Regions from separate parts of the Homo sapiens genome. Here region 1 is linked to region 2. Evidence: promoter capture Hi-C in 16 types of primary human blood cells and fetal thymus (Javierre and others, 2016). All regions are on one chromosome and are shown on one strand. Each heading gives the region's core, a stretch centred on a gene start or on the middle of the fragment in contact. The rest is flanking DNA. Distances are from core to core; before and after follow the strand shown. Region 1 overlaps FBXL20 (F-box and leucine rich repeat protein 20). Region 2 holds the start of CACNB1 (calcium voltage-gated channel auxiliary subunit beta 1).

Evidence for each region. Contacts are between HindIII fragments. The CHiCAGO score rates a contact against its expected background, and 5 or more counts as called.
Region 1: a fragment that was not itself captured here is called in contact with the fragment with the promoter of CACNB1 in region 2 in 1 of 17 cell types (megakaryocytes); the score reaches 5.3 in megakaryocytes.

Annotation. Positions count from the first base shown.
Region 1 is chr17:39,387,765-39,391,110 of GRCh38, forward strand. All of the region lies in intron 1 of FBXL20 (F-box and leucine rich repeat protein 20), which reads right to left. Among named protein-coding and RNA genes, the nearest start is that of FBXL20, 12 kb to the right of the region's middle. The HindIII fragment of the contact is 798 bases long and covers 1,384-2,181 here.
Region 2 is chr17:39,196,276-39,199,485 of GRCh38, forward strand. CACNB1 (calcium voltage-gated channel auxiliary subunit beta 1) reads right to left here and starts at 1,394. Exons shown (of 14, transcript NM_000723.5): 1 at 1,137-1,394. The coding sequence starts at 1,220. RefSeq lists silencers at 592-721, 1,152-1,551, 1,562-1,691. The HindIII fragment of the contact is 8,246 bases long and covers 1-3,210 here.

The DNA of each region.
Region 1 (3,346 bases), core at 533-3,032, 190 kb after region 2:
ATGAGGTCTCACTATATTGCTCAAGCTGGTCTTGAACTCCTGGGCTCAAGCGATCCTCCCACCTTGGTCTCGCAAAGTGCTGGGGTTACAGGCGTGAGTGACCGCACCAGGCCTTAACTACGTTTCCAACTTACGATACTTTCAATTTATCATAGGTTTATCAGGGCACAGTCCCATCTGTATTATAAAAACTAAAAAGGTAATGTGATGAGTTAATTACATATTTCATTTGAATATATATTTGACAGTGGTTAGAGGATCAGCTAGATCTTGACCACAACTTCAGAACGCCATTTATTGAGACCACTTATAATGCAAATTTCACATTATTGAAATAATAAGTAATATAAATGCTTGAGAAAATGGTATTATTTTTTCTTGGTATTCTTTCTATATTAAAAACTTATTTTGACCAGGCATGGTGGCTCACACGTGTAATCCCAGCACTTTGGGAGACCAAGGCAGGCAGATTGCTTAAGCTCAGGAGTTTGAGACCAGCCTGACCAACATGGCAAAATCTCATCTCTACTAAAAGTGCAAAAAAAATAGCTGGGCATGGTGGCACACGACTGTAATTCCAGCTACTCGGGAAGGTGAGGCACAAGAATCACCTGAGCCTGGCAGGTGGAGGTTGCAGTGAGCCAAGATCGCACTACTATGGCTCCAGCCTGGGCAACAGAACAAGAACCTGTCTCAAAAAAAAAAAGTTGCTTTTTTTTTTTTAATTTTTTTTTTTTGAGACGGCGTCTCGCTCTGTCGCCCAGGCTGGAGTGCAATGGCGTAATCTCAGCTCATTGCAACCTCCGCCTCTCGGGTTCAAGCAATTCTCCTGCCTCAGCCTCCCGAGTAGCTGGGACAACAGGCGCCCGCCACCATGCCCAGCTAATTTTTATACTTTTAATAGAGACGGGGTTTCACCATGTTGGCCAGGATGGTCTCGATCTCTTGACCTCGCGATCCACCCACCTTGGCCTCCCAAAGTGCTGGGATTACAGGTGTGAGCCACCGCGCCCGGCAAAAGCTGCATTTTTTGTTGTGCTTTAAAAAATTAGATCTGCCGGGTGCAGTGGCTCACGCCTGTAATCCCAGCACTTTGGGAGGCTGAGGTGGGTGGAGTACCTGAGGTCAGGAGTTCGAGACCAGCCTGACCAACATAATGAAACCCCCATCTCTACTAAAAATACAGAAAATTACCTGGGCATGGTGGCAGGCGCCTATAATCCCAGCTACTAGGGAGGCTGAGGCAGGAGAATCGCTTGAACCCGGGAGGCGGAGGTTGTAGTAAGCTGAGATCACGCCATTGCACTCCAGCCTGGGCAACAAGAGCAAAACTCCATCTCAAAAAAAAAAAAAAAAAAAAAAAAATTAGATCTACATTTGGGAAGCTTCTTTTATATAACCCCAGTCAACTGTGACTAAGAATACTGAATAATAATGAAGTTTCTTATCTCCCTGCAGTTACTATTCATGATAATGTACAAGGAAAGTTATAGTATTAAAGAAAAGTTTTAACCAGTCCTAGGAGAACGCCAAGATACATCAGGTTGCTTTTCTACAAGTGGGTGGCAGAAATAAGTTGTGATATGATTTTGTTTAATATGACCTTCTTTTCTTTACATGAAACACATGCAAACGATTTTCAAAAAGCTGATAAGGACGAATGTCGGGAAAGGGTATTGGCAATGCAGTGCTCGTTTTAAAAAATAAATGCAGGCCAAGTGCAGTGGGAAAGGGTATTGGCAATGCAGTGCTCGTTTTAAAAAATAAATGCAGGCCAAGTGCAGTGGCTCATGCCTGTAATCCCAGCACTCTGTGAGGCTGATGCAAGCACATCACAAGGTTAGGAGATCGAGACCATCCTGGCTAACACGGTGAAACCCTGTCTCTACTAAAAATACAAAAAATTAGCCAGGTGTGGTGGCAGGTGCCTGTAGTCCCAACTACTCAGGAGGCTGAGGCAGGAGGATGGCGTGAACCCAGGAGGCGGAACTTGCAGTGAGCCAAGATCGCACCACTGAACTCCAGCCTAGGTGACAGAGTGAGACTCTGTCTCTAAATAAACAAATAAATAAATAAATGCATCTTTAATGTCTGTGTTTAATCATGTCATAGCTTTACTTTCTACATATCAGAGAAGGAAGAATGACCCATTTCTGGGGGCGGAGGTAGGGTGCGGTTAAAAGCTTGCTGATCCAGTGTTTTAGATGTCAACTTACAATTTGGTGCCAGATTTTCATCTTAGGAGACACTTATTCATATTTGCCTAACAATGAGTACAATAATAGTTGCAGTATAAATTCTAGACTGAAACACTACTAAATTATTACTGTTGAACTAGATTAAAATTCATAGGCATTCCTGTTTAATAAACCCAATATAAAAAACTGATTAGGCTGGGTGCAGTGGCTCATACCTGTAATCCCAGCACTTTGGGAAGCCAAGGTCCAGGAGTTTGAGACCAGCCTGGGCAACATGGCGAAATCCCATCTCTACAAAAAAATACAAAAATTGGCCAGACGCGGTGGCTCACACCTGTAATCAATCCCAGCACTTTGAGAGGCCGAGGCAGGTGGATCACCTGGGGTCATGAGTTCAAGACTAGCCTGACCAACATGGTGAAACCCCGTTTCTACTAAAAATACAAAAATTAGCCAGGCGTGGTGGTTGGCACCTGTAATCCCAGCTACTAGGGAGGCTGAGGCAGGAGAATCACTTTAACCTGGGAGGCAGAGGTTGCAGTGAGCTGAGATGGCGCCACTGCACTCCAACCTGGGTGACAGAGCGCAAGACTCCATCTTAAAAAAAAAAAAAAAATAGCCAGATATGGTGGCACCCACCTGTAGTCCCAGCTACTGGGGAGACAGAGGTGGGAGGATGGCCTGGGCCCCAGAGGTCAAGGCTGCAGTGAGCCCTGATGTCACCACTGCATTCCAACCTGGGTGATAGATCAAGACCCTGTCTCAAACAAAAACTGAGTCAGATAAATAAAGAGGTCATTAGTAGGCCAAGTACAGTGGCTCACGCCTGTAATCCTAGCACTTTTGGAGGCCAAGGCAGGTGGATCACGAGGTAAGGAGTTCAAGACCAGCCTGGTCAAGATGGTAAAACCCTGTCTCTACTAAAAATACAAAAATTACCCGGGCATGGTGGCAGGCGCCTGTAATCCCAGCTACTTGGGAAGCTGAGGCAGAGAACTGCTTGAACCCAGGCAGAGGTTGCACTGAGCAGAGACAGCTCCACTGCACTCCAGCTTGTGCGACAGAGCAAGGCTCTATCTCAAAAAAAAAGATCATTAGTTGTATTCTTCCCTCTGTAAAAGGATTTTTCCATTAAATAGTAAGTTCCT
Region 2 (3,210 bases), core at 144-2,643:
AAGTTGTGATGCTCCCTACAAACCTAGGAGGATCACCCAGTGAATCCCAGACACCACCCTCCCCCACCACTGCCAGGCTGGGCAAAGGGAGTGGCACTCAGAGGGACAGGGGACAGCTGAAAGGAAGGCCCCAGTCAGCTGCCTCCCAGGCTCAAAGGGGCCTGGGGTGGAGGAAGGTATTTTTAGGTCTGACTTGACCCCTCTACATACCCATCAGTCACATTATCATGGTGGTTACAGCTGGTGGCCACAGTAACAGAAGAGTTAATGCTATCCTTGGAGAAGGACACTCCCAAAGAAATCCCCTGGCGCGACCATCCCAGAGCCTGCTGGTCACCCCATGAGAACCCACCGCGCCCAAGAATGCCACTTCCTGGGAGTAACCAGGGGTGTAGGAAAAGTGTGCGGGTGGGGATGGAGAAGTAGACCCCTCCCCCAGGTAAAACAGCTTCCCCCCCTCCTATGAGTTGGCATCCATCCAACTTTCCAAACTTTGGAGGCGTTTTTGGGGCGGGGGTGGGGGTGGGGTAAGTCAACGTGGGTGTGGGGGGAGGGGAGCAGGTCCGACATAGAGATGGAGCCCAGGTGGCTGGGAGGGGACCTCGACCGGGGTTGGCTCTTTCCCCACCCTCGAGAACCAGTGTCTGCGGCTTTGAAGGCCTGTTGGCATTTGGCACCGCCCTCTGACCATCGCCTCGGCCACCTCCTCGTGCCACCCCCGCCCCACCCACACCCGCCTGGCGCCCCCGAGCGTGCTCTGCGTCGCCCCCCTTGCCTGGCTCGCTTTCTAGCCTCTTTCAACCTCCCCTTCTCAAGGCCCAGATCCCCCTCCACCAGCACCCCCACGCTCAGCCCACTGAAGCTGGTGCCCAAGCGGCAGGAACCTTGACGCGGGGGAGATAAGGAGGCGAGGGTGACAGGCAGCCCACCCGCCCCCTCCCCGCTCCGCAGCATCGCCACCCAGCCCCAGGCCCAGCGCCCATCAATCACAACCTGCAAGGATGGGGGGCGCGCAGGCATCCCTCTCTCCTCCGCGCCCGGCATATAACCCCTTCCTCTCCCGCGCCTCTCGAGCCGACCTTAACACGGTCCGCGGGAGCGACCCCCTCCCGTTGGGCCGGGCCACCACGCCTCACCTGCGGGCTGGGGTCGAAGACCTCCATGGGGATCTCCTGGGAGGGTGGGTAAGGGCCCCGGGACATGCTGGTCTTCTGGACCATGGAGAGGAGCCTCCCCTCCCGCCGCCGGCCCGGCCCAGCCGGGCTCCCTCAGCGCATGGGAGAGGCCGTGGGAGCCGAAAGCAGCGCGGCGCAGCCAGCACCCGGTCCAGCCACCCAGCTCGGCCTTCGGCTGCCTCCTTCCTGCCTTCCCTCGCTCCTCCCGCTCTCTCCACTGCCGCCGCCGCCTCCCCCGTAGGCTCAGCATCTCCCCGCGCCCCTCCCTCGCTCCCTCCCTCCGCCCGCCCGGCCCCGCCCCTCGCAGCCCCTCCGCCGGCTCGGCGCACACAATGGGCGTGCGGCAGCAGGGAGGCAAGCCCCTCTCGGCTCTAGGTGGCCGCAGGTGGGCCTCTGACTGGCCGTGGGGTGCAGGCGGCCCGCTGGGGCGGGAAGGCAGAAACTAGGCGTGGAACTTGGGGGAGGGGTGGGGGGGCGGTCTACCAGTGGATGCCGAGCGCTGATGGGGATTGGCATGGCTGGCACCACCCCCCTTTTGTCCCAAACCTCTCTTCCTGCGGGTCCCCCCAACCCACTCCTGTTTGGACCACCGGAACTTCCCGGTCCCGGTGATCCTGGGACCTGGCTTTAACTCCTTTCTCCCCAGTGTGGGGCCCAGGCTGCCTCAAACCAAACAGAAAAGCCTCTCCCTCCAACATGGCTCTGGGGCTGCCGGTGGGAGGCTGAGGCTGAGATGGGGAGGGTGTCCAATAGAGACAGCAAAATAAATCCCAGGGGTCCAGGAGTTCTGCCCTAATCAGTCACTAGGATACACCGCCCCCCCAACCCCTGTTCTTCCAAAAGGCCAGGAATGGGGCTGGGTGAGGTCCCTGCTCTTGGATGAGAAAAGAGGAAGAAATATGGAGCTGAGAGAGGAGAAGCTGGTAAAATCAGATCTCATGACCTTTGACCTAGAATTGCGCCACCTTTACCCCTGATTTAGGGAGAAACATCCAAGATCTGGATGCCACCCACCATGACTGGTGGAGAGAAGAGGAATAGGAGATTCTGGGCAATAGACTCTGGCGCCAATTTGGCTCAGGCTGTTTCTGGTTGTATAGCCCCGGACAAATCACCTCTCTGAGCATCAGTTTCCTCCTCTCCTATAAAATGGGGTTGCTGGTACTGTGGAGTCTGTGTCACCTGGTATTATTGGGAGGATGAGGGAGAATTAAATGAATTGCTGGGGTGTTTGGAGAAGCTGTAAGTTTCAATGAAGGGGTCACTCATGACAGGAGGACCCATTCCCTTCCTACTCCACCCCTTCTCCTGCTCCACAGAAAGGAGAGATGGAGAAGACCCTCTCCAGGTCAAGTGACCTTACAATAAGGCCACCACCTTGCTGTGTTCCGCAGGACAGGAGACTATGGGACTCCTCCTCCTCACCCAACTCTAATAGCAAGTGAATGGTCAGTCTGTCATTCCTCTGATCACAACACCTTGGGGAAGGCGGAGCAGTGAGTGAAGATGAAGCCCATTAGAAACGTTCCAGGAGAGTTCCAACCCTGAGCAGGGTTTCCACCTGCCCCTTGGAGACAAGAAAGGCTGGCATAACCGCAAAAGTATGGGCTTTGCAATCAGAAATATCTGTGTTCTGAATCTGTTACCTTAGCTGTAAAATGAGGGCAACGCTAATCGTGTTGTTGTGAGGAAGTAGCATAAATGTTGCTTCCCTTTCTCTCTCTTCTACTTTCTCAGCCAGGAAAGTTGAGATGAAACGGATAGGGTGATCAGCAGGAACCAATCATGAGTTGGAGCCTCAATTCAGATGTAGACTTCTTAAACCCCAGAATGTTCTTCTTGGATTTTTACATTGGGTGTTCCAGATCAGAAGAAAAGGACTGCTTTTTTTTTTTTTTTGAGACGGAGTCTCACTCTGTTGCCCAGGCTGGAGTGCAGTGGCGCAATCTCGGCTCACTGCAACCTCCGCCTCCTGGGTTCAAGCGATTCTCCTGCCTCAGCCTCCCCAGTAGCTGGAATTACAAGCACGCGCCGC